Regions from separate parts of the Homo sapiens genome. Here region 1 is linked to region 2. The links are contacts of gene promoters, found by promoter capture Hi-C in blood cells and fetal thymus (Javierre and others, 2016). All regions are on one chromosome and are shown on one strand. Each heading gives the region's core, a stretch centred on a gene start or on the middle of the fragment in contact. The rest is flanking DNA. Distances are from core to core; before and after follow the strand shown. Region 1 has its middle 110 kb from the start of CLDN14. Region 2 holds the start of SIM2 (SIM bHLH transcription factor 2).

Evidence for each region. The method cuts DNA at HindIII sites, captures the fragments that hold promoters and counts their contacts. A CHiCAGO score of 5 or more calls a contact.
Region 1: a fragment that was not itself captured here is called in contact with the fragment with the promoter of SIM2 in region 2 in 1 of 17 cell types (naive CD4 T cells); the score reaches 5.6 in naive CD4 T cells.

Annotation. Positions count from the first base shown.
Region 1 is chr21:36,582,991-36,588,172 of GRCh38, forward strand. No RefSeq gene overlaps it. Among named protein-coding and RNA genes, the nearest start is that of CLDN14, 110 kb to the left of the region's middle. The HindIII fragment of the contact is 957 bases long and covers 1,695-2,651 here.
Region 2 is chr21:36,697,032-36,702,380 of GRCh38, forward strand. It overlaps SIM2 (SIM bHLH transcription factor 2), which reads left to right and starts at 2,084. Exons shown (of 11, transcript NM_005069.6): 1 at 2,084-2,890. The coding sequence starts at 2,716. LOC105369308 (a long non-coding RNA gene) reads right to left here and starts at 1,960. Exons shown (of 3, transcript NR_188246.1): 1 at 1,878-1,960. It overlaps LOC107985492 (a long non-coding RNA gene), which reads left to right and starts at 3,485. Exons shown (of 4, transcript XR_001755029.1): 1 at 3,485-5,349. RefSeq lists enhancers at 3,311-3,904, 3,905-4,497. The HindIII fragment of the contact is 14,642 bases long and covers 1-5,349 here.

The DNA of each region.
Region 1 (5,182 bases), core at 923-3,422, 110 kb before region 2:
CCACCTCTGCCATCACCCACACAATCCAGCAACATCCCCAGTGCCACCTGGATTTTGCCCATTCCTCCATCATCTCTCCTCCCAAAGAAAATCTCCCTCTTCCTTCCTCAAGGGGTCCACATGGGTGGCCAACTGCTGGACCATTCTGAAGTCTCTAGGAAATAAGCCTTTCCTGCCTCTTCCAGCTCCTGGTGTTTGTTGGGAATCCTTGCTGTTCCTTGGCTCATGGCAACATAATTCTAATCTCTGCCTTCATCATCACACGGTATCCTCCATGTCTGTGTCTCCATGTCCAAATTTTCCTCTTGTTATAAGGATACAGTCATACTGGATTTAGGGCCCCCTCTAACCCAGTATGACATTATCTTAACCTGACTACATCCATAAAGAAATACCCTATTTCCAAATGAAGTCACATTCTGAGGTCCCAGGTGGGCATGAATTTTGAGGTGGGGGGGATGCAATTCACACAAGCGTCATCACTTAAGGGTAATGAAGGCCAGAACTTTTGACTTTCTTGGTATAACCAACTTTAATTACAATATCCTGAGTTTTTTCCCCCCAAAGTCACTCTGAAATGACCATCTACCCTTTTCCATTCCATAAACTTAGTCTAATACAGACAGAGCTCAGCTTTCAAATAGAGGAGTTTTCCTGAGCTGCTGCAGGTAAGGGCGCCTGTTTGCAGTGTCTGTTGGCCAGGCCAGGTTGGGGGTGCCCATGGGAAGAAGGAAACCCACAGGATCCCATCCAGGGGAGGGAGCTCATTAGCATAACCCCTGGCTTGCTCTGCCCATCATGCACGTCTAGCATCCTGATTGGTAGGTTTGAAAGGAGACCTGGGTCATGGGCAGTAAGAGGTCCTGCATCTCGATTTACTCTCAGGAGTGACTGGCACTTCCAGGGCTGGGCTCCTCCAAGGATGGGCTCATCCCTGTGGGGTGGAGTAGGGGTCTGTCCAGTTCCGCCACACCCACCCCACCCACCCCCCACGCCCACCCCACCCACCCCCCACGCCCACCCCACCCACCCCCCACGCCAAAATTGGACTTCTGTATTAGGGAGCTTATTTGCCCAAAGATATAAGCCACATTCTCCAACCTAGACTGTCAGTTATAAACGTAGTCTTTGGGCTGGAATAAAGGCAGTCTTTGGGCCAGGCACAGTGGTTCACATCTGTAATCCCAGCACTTTGGGAGGCCAAGGCGGATGGATCTCCTGAGGTCAGGAGTTCAAGACCAGCCTGGCCAACATGGTGAAATCCCGTTTCTACTAAAAATACAAAAATTAGCCAGGTATGGTGGTGGGCACTTGTAATCCCAGCTACTCAGGAGGCTGAGGCAGGAGAATTGCTTGAATTCGGGAGGCGGAGGTTGCAGTGAGCCAGGATCACACCACTGCACTCCAGCCTGGGCGACAGAGCCAGACTCCATCTCAAAAACAACAACAACAACAAAAACGGTCTTTGCGACTCCATTGGCCTCATGCCTTTTTTCACCTTTCATTTGGTTCAGAATTTGGGCAGGAAGAGTGTGCCATTTACCAGACACCCCCAATACCTTGGCAACACACAGGGCTCACTTTGAACACCAATTAACTTCTCAACAGTTCACACACAATCCATGCATGGGAGCCTTATTCCCTTAATACGCCAAAAAATATACCTGAAGCTAAAAATATACCAACCCAAGGCAAGCTTGAACTTTCCATAAAAGGCCATTAAGAGAATTGATTTCATCTCCGGGATTATTGCCCTGTGACAGCTGGTATGCATTCCAAATACAGCAACAAAAGAGAAGGCCACGCTGTAGAAAGGAGTTTAAGTGGAAACCTTCCATACACCAAAATCTCAAAGGAGAGGAAGTTGCTTGCCACCCCCTTGGTTACAGTTCATAGTCATAAAGGCTGTTTCTATAGAATAGACTTCCACGATTATCTATTTGCAAAAATGTACAAACACAGCCAGCATACTCTGTGCCTGTAGAAAGACCTGGATCAATACAAGTAACAGAAGAATGAAGAAAAGAGGAAAAAAAGATTTTATCAAGGCTGTTTACTTTAAGGGTACCTTAAAGACCTGCACAAACACACCTGCTACTTCAGTGCCAGGAAGAACAGAGCAAACATGGCTCTCCTTTAAAAGAAACTGGAGAAAGAGACTTTGCAGCCACAAAACCAGTCACACCAGGAGGCGCTAGCATCTCAGCAAGTGAAAGCATAGAAGCCTCATCTTCAGATCAAAGTTATTTAAAAGGAGCCCAGGATCACACTTCTGAATTAAGCCTACATCACATCGGGGACAGTAACATGTTGAGGAATGTTTAACCACAAACTGGATCACCAGAAGGGAAAAATCTCCTGATTCCTAGCATCTGCCCATTTCTGTGGTGTAAATACTCCCACAGTAGCTGATTTCAAGCTGCCAGCATTGGCAGAGATGTGAAACACCACACCATTGTATAGTATTTCCACCCTCCAGATACAATAGGTGCAAACAACTTCTAGAGCATAGGTACCAGTAAAATGTACTAACACAATCAGGAAGTAAAAAATGCTAAAACAATTAGGAAGTTGAATGTATTAAAACAACTAGGAAGTGATGAGTTTTGAGTATTTATTACTTTTGTGGTAATATAATTTATTTAATTGTAAGCTTATGATTTTAAATTTTTAAATAGTGACTCTTTTAGCTACCAGCTCACAAAATTCCGGCAAATTTTACAATTGGCTCAAGCTGGGGCAAGTCTCCTTCAACCTACCATGGTCTGGGGAGCGTTTTCAAAGTAACAAAGATCTTCCTTTCCCTACCTCAATTGCGGGAGGCCCATTGGGACAAAATGCCCCAGAGGCGACCACATGTGCATATTTTCTTTTCCTTCCTTCCTTCCTTCCTTCCTTCCTTCCTTCCTTCCTTCCTTCCTTCCTTCCTCCCTCCCTCTCTCTTTCTCTCTCTTTCTTTTTCTTTTTTTTCTCGCAGTTTCGCTCTTGTTGCCCAGGCTGGAGTGCAGTGGTGTGATCTTGGCTCACTGCAACCTCCACCTCCTGGGTTCAATCGTTTCTCCTGCCTTAGCCTCTCGAGTAGCTGGGATGACAGGTGCGCCACCATGTCCCGCTAATTTTTTGTATTTTTAGTAGAGACAGGGTTTCACCATGTTGGCCAGGCTGGTCTCGAACTCCTGATCTCAGGTGATCCACCTGCCTCGGCTTCCCAAAGTGCTGGGATTACAGGCGTGAGCCACCATGCCTGGCCATCATGCATATTTTCAAAAGCTCTCCAGTGCAATTCTAATGGACTCCCTGGGTGAGAACCACTGCTGTGTCCCACCCTTCCATGTTACAGAAAGGGAAGCTGAAGTTCAAAAGTTTAAATGTTCTCTCTGTTGGTTAACAGATGACCGAGCTGGAGAATGACTATTAGTTGGGTTCTTTCTCTTCCCCTAGACCTTCCCCCCAACAATTATGTGCAACTTTGGATCTCTTCTGGAAATACTGCACCTTATAAGCACCTTATTTGAAATATTGCAACTATATTAGCAGTATAGGCCATATACCAAAGCCTCATTACTTTAAAAGGAAAAAAAAAAGAGAGATGGGGGGGCAGTCCTACTGTGTTGCTCAGGCTGGTCTTGAACTCCTGGCCTCCGGCGATCCTCCTGCCTCAGCCTCCCGAATAACTGGGACATAGGTGCATTGCATTCAGCTTACTTTTGCATTACCTTAACAATAACCAAAATAAAGTTTACCATAATATCATTTATTTTTAAAAAGGGTTTAACAAGGAAATTCATAGGTAAGCCAAACTAGAAAGGAGACATCAACGTCCTCAAGAAACTTTAGAGACCAGCTTTCTCTCTGTTTGTATATAAACCATGTATATATTAATAACAAACCATTCTGATCTATATACTAAGAGAGGGTCAACTGAACTGGCAATGTTTAGTTAGTGGTTATTTTAACTTATTCTTAATTAAAAATAAAGTTATTCTAGCCAGTTGCAGTGGCATGTTCCTGTAGTCCCAGCTACTCAGGAGGCTGAGGCAGGAGGATTGCTTAAGCCCAGGATTTTGAGTCCAGCCTGGATAACATAGTGAGAGCTTGTTTCCATTTTTCAGAAAAGTTGTTCTAGGTAGCAAGATTATGGTGATTTACTCTTCCATATTTCTTCTAAATCTTCTTCAACAAGCTTAATGCTGTAGTCCTGTCCCATATATTTTTAATGCTTTTATAATCAGAAAAATTGACTTTTTTTTTAACCCAAGTCAATTGCATCTCTTTCCGCACCCAGACTTTTCATGAATTTGGTTTGGCTTCTCTTTTAAATTTTCCCAAGACAGCAAGGAAAAGTGATCCAGCTAAGCTTTCCTTTTAGGACTTTTTACTGACTCTCCCCAGCGATTTGAAGATAACCTCCTCCTGAGCTCTCCACCCCACTCTGAAGCTGCGAGGTCCCCACCGAACAGAACACGGTCTCCTGAGTGTCCCACCCTGCTCTTAGCGGGAGAACTCAGCTTTCGGCTCCCATAGGCATGGAAACAGTTACCAAACACTGGTTCCTAGGCCAGTGTCTCTCCTACTGCTAGTTGAAAGAATATTCCATGACTCATTGTGGACTCATCTCCCAAAGATATTAAATCTGAGTTTCAGTGAAAGCCAGTCCAGGTAAGCCCTGTACAAATAAGAACACGCCTGAGCTAAAACCAGGCTGGTGGATTCCAGCATCTTCTCTGGGCTCTTCCTGTGTCTCAGAGCGTGAGCTTGGGCTTCTACTCCGTGCCTGGGGGACCCATGCCCCCTGCCACCCCATGGCTGGAAGAGTACCCCTGTCTGGGAGAAATCAGCTATAAACGCAGAAGACAAGAGCCCTGAGGGAGGCAACCTTTCACCAGGTCCAGGGGCTTCTCCATTGGTCCTCACGGTCGGGCTCATTATCACAGCATCTTCTGATGATGTCTTTGCCTTGCTCCCATCCCTGTGGGTGGTGAAGGGCCGGGAAGGCAAGTGTGCAGGACTGTGGGTGCTGGGCTTATCTGGAGGCATCTGCTGAGGGGAGGCCAGCACATGTTTCTTAAGAACAAGGGCACGCGTCTTATCCCCTTCTCTTCCTGGTGGGCCGGGCTCCTTGGTGCAAAGCAGCTCTTTTTTTTTTTTTTTTTTTTTTTTTTTTGAGATGGAGTTTCGCTCT
Region 2 (5,349 bases), core at 834-3,333:
AAAATCCGGGAAATTTGCCTTGAGGAAAGTTTCCGTTCTTGTTACTTGTCGGGTTTCTCCCACTTCCACTTAGCCATGTTTCTGCGATCTGGGTAATCCCTTTCAAGCCCAGGAGGAATTCTCCCGGGTCCATAATTGAGGGTCGGAAGCCGTGGGGGTGAGAAACGCATTAAATCCTCCCGAAGCCCAGGAGGTGCCAGAGCGGGCTCAGGGGGCCGCCTGCGGAAGCTGCGGCAGGGGCTGGGTCCGTAGCCTCTAACCCCTTGGAGCTCCTTCTCCCAGAGGCCCGGAGCCGGCAGCTGTCAGCGCAGCCAGGAGCGGGATCCTGGGCGCGGAGGTGGGTCCGACTCGCCAGGCTTGGGCATTGGAGACCCGCGCCGCTAGCCCATGGCCCTCTGCTCAAGCCGCTGCAACAGGAAAGCGCTCCTGGATCCGAAACCCCAAAGGAAAGCGCTGTTACTCTGTGCGTCCGGCTCGCGTGGCGTCGCGGTTTCGGAGCACCAAGCCTGCGAGCCCTGGCCACGATGTGGACTCCGCAAGGGGCTAGGGACAGGCAGGGGGAGAGCCCGGGTTTGCGCACACCTTCCAGCCCCTGGAGGGAGCCTGCTCGGCTTCGAACGCCTTCGAACTTTTGACCTTCAAAGGAGTCCCTGGAAAAGGTCAGGAGCGCCTGCTGCAGGCACGGTTGCCGAAGGCCAGGCCTTCCTGGCGCAGGGGAGGGCCAGGGGAGGGAAGCGGATACTCAGTCGCTGTCCGACGGCGAGTTTTCGGAGCAGCAGGCTCATGATCCCGGGCCAGTGGCGAGAGCAGTGACACCGAGAACCCAAATCTCCGCGCCCCCATCCGCGGCCCGGTGTCCTCCCGGCCCCTGCTGACCTCCAGGTCACGCACCCCACTGCTCCACGGCTCTGCAGCCTGTGGCACACGGCCGAGAGTCCCCACATGATCTCGACGCCAAGGTAAGGAATTGCCCTGCGTCCTCTGAGCCTGTCTCTGGCCTGGGGGGCCGGGAAAGCTGCACTCCTGGAAGAGGTGGGGTTATGTGACCGCCGCTGCAGGGGTGCGCGGAGGACTCCTGGGCCGCACACCCATTTCCAGGCTGCGGGAGCCGGACAGGGGAGGGCAGAGGGGGGACAAAAGGACTCTTTAGGTCCAAAATGACCCTGAAGGAGAGTCCAGAATGCCCAGTGGCCGCGTCTGCAACGGAGTCTTCTTTCTCCAATTGCCTTCTGCCCCATCACCATGGGCCCCACCTGCGCCACCTGCGCCCACCCTGTGACCCTGGCTCAGCGACCTTGGCCCTTAATCGCCCAACGCCGATTCCTCAAAATTCCGGCTGCGCTGAATCGGGCTGCTTTTGCCGCCGCCCCGGCAGTTGGGCCCTGTTTCCGCCGGCGCCCTGGGAGAGGCCTCACCACTCGGCTGGGCTCCCTGGCCCCTCCCTTCCCCTGGCCTGAGCGCCCCTGCGGCCTCCCGCTCCTCCTGAGAAGGCGACAATCTCTTTGCACCTTAGTGTTTCGAGGACAGAAAGGGCAGAAGGGTCACTTCGGAGCCACTCGCGCCGTTTTCACGTGTGTGTGTAATGGGGGGAGGGGGGCTCCCGGCTTTCCCCTTTTCAGCTCTTGGACCTGCAACACCGGGAGGGCGAGGACGCGGGACCAGCGCACCCTCGGAAGGCTCGATCCTCCCCGGCAGGGCGCCTGGCCAACGAGTCGCGCCGCCTCCTCTCGGCCGCGCCTGCTGGTGACCTTCCCGAGAGCCACAGGGGCGGCCTCGGCACCCCTCCTTCCCTCGCCCTCCCTGCCGCCCATCCTAGCTCCGGGGTCCGGCGACCGGCGCTCAGGAGCGGGTCCCCGCGGCGCGCCGTGTGCACTCACCGCGACTTCCCCGAACCCGGGAGCGCGCGGGTCTCTCCCGGGAGAGTCCCTGGAGGCAGCGACGCGGAGGCGCGCCTGTGACTCCAGGGCCGCGGCGGGGTCGGAGGCAAGATTCGCCGCCCCCGCCCCCGCCGCGGTCCCTCCCCCCTCCCGCTCCCCCCTCCGGGACCCAGGCGGCCAGTGCTCCGCCCGAAGGCGGGTCTGCCATAAACAAACGCGGCTCGGCCGCACGTGGACAGCGGAGGTGCTGCGCCTAGCCACACATCGCGGGCTCCGGCGCTGCGTCTCCAGGCACAGGGAGCCGCCAGGAAGGGCAGGAGAGCGCGCCCGGGCCAGGGCCCGGCCCCAGCCGCCTGCGACTCGCTCCCCTCCGCTGGGCTCCCGCTCCATGGCTCCGCGGCCACCGCCGCCCCTGTCGCCCTCCGGTCCGGAGGGGCCTTGCCGCAGCCGGTTCGAGCACTCGACGAAGGAGTAAGCAGCGCCTCCGCCTCCGCGCCGGCCGCCCCCACCCCCCAGGAAGGCCGAGGCAGGAGAGGCAGGAGGGAGGAAACAGGAGCGAGCAGGAACGGGGCTCCGGTTGCTGCAGGACGGTCCAGCCCGGAGGAGGCTGCGCTCCGGGCAGCGGCGGGCGGCGCCGCCGGGTTGCTCGGAGCTCAGGCCCGGCGGCTGCGGGGAGGCGTCTCGGAACCCCGGGAGGCCCCCCGCACCTGCCCGCGGCCCACTCCGCGGACTCACCTGGCTCCCGGCTCCCCCTTCCCCATCCCCGCCGCCGCAGCCCGAGCGGGGCTCCGCGGGCCTGGAGCACGGCCGGGTCTAATATGCCCGGAGCCGAGGCGCGATGAAGGAGAAGTCCAAGAATGCGGCCAAGACCAGGAGGGAGAAGGAAAATGGCGAGTTTTACGAGCTTGCCAAGCTGCTCCCGCTGCCGTCGGCCATCACTTCGCAGCTGGACAAAGCGTCCATCATCCGCCTCACCACGAGCTACCTGAAGATGCGCGCCGTCTTCCCCGAAGGTGAGGCCTCAGGTGGGCGGCCGGGGACGCTGGGGAGCCCGGCGGCCCCGGCCCAGGCGGGAAGCGCAAGCCAGCCCGCCCAGAGGGGTTGCCGCGGCCTGGCGTCCAGAGCTGGGGCGTCTGAGGGAGGTTGCGTGAGGGTCTTCGGCTTCGGCGCTGGCTTGGGGCGAGGGGCCAGGGCCTTGGCGGCCCAGGCGACCAAACCCTCTCCTGGTCCAGGGCTGGGTGAGGGCGAATTACGAATTGTTCCAGGGGCAGGCAGTCCCCCAGCCCGCACGGCCAGCGAGTTCTTTCTGGTTTTGTTCTTTCTCCCTTTCCTCCTTCCTTCCTTCGCCAGTGCATTCTGGTTTGGTTTGGATTTTTTTCTCTCTTTCTTTCCTTTCTTTCTTTCTTTCTCTTTCTTTTTCTTTCTTTCTTCCTCTTTCTTTCATTCTCCCCTTCCTTCCTTCCTTGGCCCCCTCTCTCCCTCCCTCCTTCCTTCCTTCCTTTGCCAATGCATTGGTTTGTTTTCTTTCCTTTTCTGCTTTCCTTCCTTTCTTTGGAAGTTCACTCTGGTTTTGCTTTCTTTCTTTCCCCATCCCTTCCTTTCTTTATCCCTCCTTCCCTTCCTCCTTTTCTTTCTACGATTCCCTTTATTTTTCCTTCATTCCTCCCTCTTTTTGTCTCTTCTGGAGGAGGTGAAGGAGGGTCAGCTTCAGGCGCTGCGAGTCAGCGGGGATCACGGTGAGGCCCAAGCACTGCAGGCTGAGGCCACAGAGCGAACACTTGTGCTGAGCCGGGCCCTCTCGTGAGGCTGGGGTGCGGGAAGTCCGGGCAGGAGAGACCCGCCCCCGCCGTTGCTGAGCTGAGACCCGGCTGAAAGAGAGGGGTCCGATTAATTCGAAAATGGCAGACAGAGCTGAGCGCTGCCGTTCTTTTCAGGATTGAAAATGTGCCAGTGGGCCAGGGGCGCTGGGACCCGCGGTGCGGAAGACTCGGAACAGGAAGAAATAGTGGCGCGCTGGGTGGGCTGCCCCGCCGCCCACGCCGGTTGCCGCTGGTGACAGTGGCTGCCCGGCCAGGCACCTCCGAGCAGCAGGTCTGAGCGTTTTTGGCGTCCCAAGCGTTCCGGGCCGCGTCTTCCAGAGCCTCTGCTCCCAGCGGGGTCGCTGCGGCCTGGCCCGAAGGATTTGACTCTTTGCTGGGAGGCGCGCTGCTCAGGGTTCTGGTGGGTCCTCTGGGCCCAGGAGCTGGGAGGGCTGCGCCGGCCTCTGGAGCCCCGGGAGCCAGTGCCGAGGTAGGGAGACAACTTCCGCCGCAGGGCGCCGGACGGTCGGGGCAGAGCAGGCGACAGGTGTCCCTAGGCCGCAGGGCGCTTCCATAGCGCCATCCCCACCAGGCACTCTACTCGAAATCGGAAAGCTCGACCTTTTGCGTTCGCCTCTGCCAAGCCTGTTATTTGTGCTGGCCGCTGGGTCTGGAGCTGCGCTTCTCGGCCCCTCCCCGGTGGAGCGCAGAGGGCTGGTCTGCAAGCGCGGCCTCCAGCCCCGCGGCTCCCCGGCCCAGGAGCCAGGCGCGGGCTGACCCGGGAGCACCCGGCAGCGGAGGGGGCTGGAAGCGGACCCTAGGCCTCTCCTGTGCCACCCGGCCCTACCGCGCGGCCGCGGGGCGCTCTCCTCTCGGGCGCAGCGGTCCTTCAGCCCAGGGCAGGTTCCTCCCTTTCCTACTCGGAACGTGGCAAAGATACCCCAGTCCCAGCCCCTCCAGCTGAGAGCTGTTGCCCAAGGTCGTCGCTACTTGTCCGCTCAATGGTGACCCCTTGGCAGAGAACTAGGGATGATTCCACTCCGGTTGATGTTTTAGGGGAAATTAAAAGAACATTCGGTTTTCTGAGTCTCCTTCCGGGGAGGCGTGGTGGTAACTGGTTTGCTGGGAAGAGCCGTTCCTTAACCGCATGCAACAAAGCAGGTGTGGAATCCGGACGAGAGGGCACTCACTGCCTTCTGCCCCCTTTGGAAATAGAAAAAGCCTTCGAAGCAGCAATCCAAAGATCAAATGATTTGCGGTCAATGATTTCAATTAAACCAGAAATTAGTAAGGGAGGGCCGAGAAGACACGGCTGCTCAGAAGCTGTTCGCTGTTTGAGGGATTTCCCGGAGAGCCTGTTAAAAGATGCGAAGTGGTGGGTGTACCGCTCAGCCACCTTTAAACCGGCTCTGTGCGTTCTGGCTCTGGAAAGCAAGTCTCCAGGCATTTGGGCTCAGAATTGCTGGGCCCCGAGTTTGGGCGGGGGTGGTCCTTCTGGGGGTCAGGCCTTGAGCAGCTTGCACTGGTGGCAGGTTTGGGAGCAGTTGAGGGGCTTCCTGTGTGTCTTTTGGAGGGGGTGACCCTGGAAGTTGGCACTCTGGAAGGGAGCTGTTTGGCCCTAGAGTTTTGGAAAGGGCCCTGAACCTGTTCGGTCCCCCTCGGAAAGGGAAGGG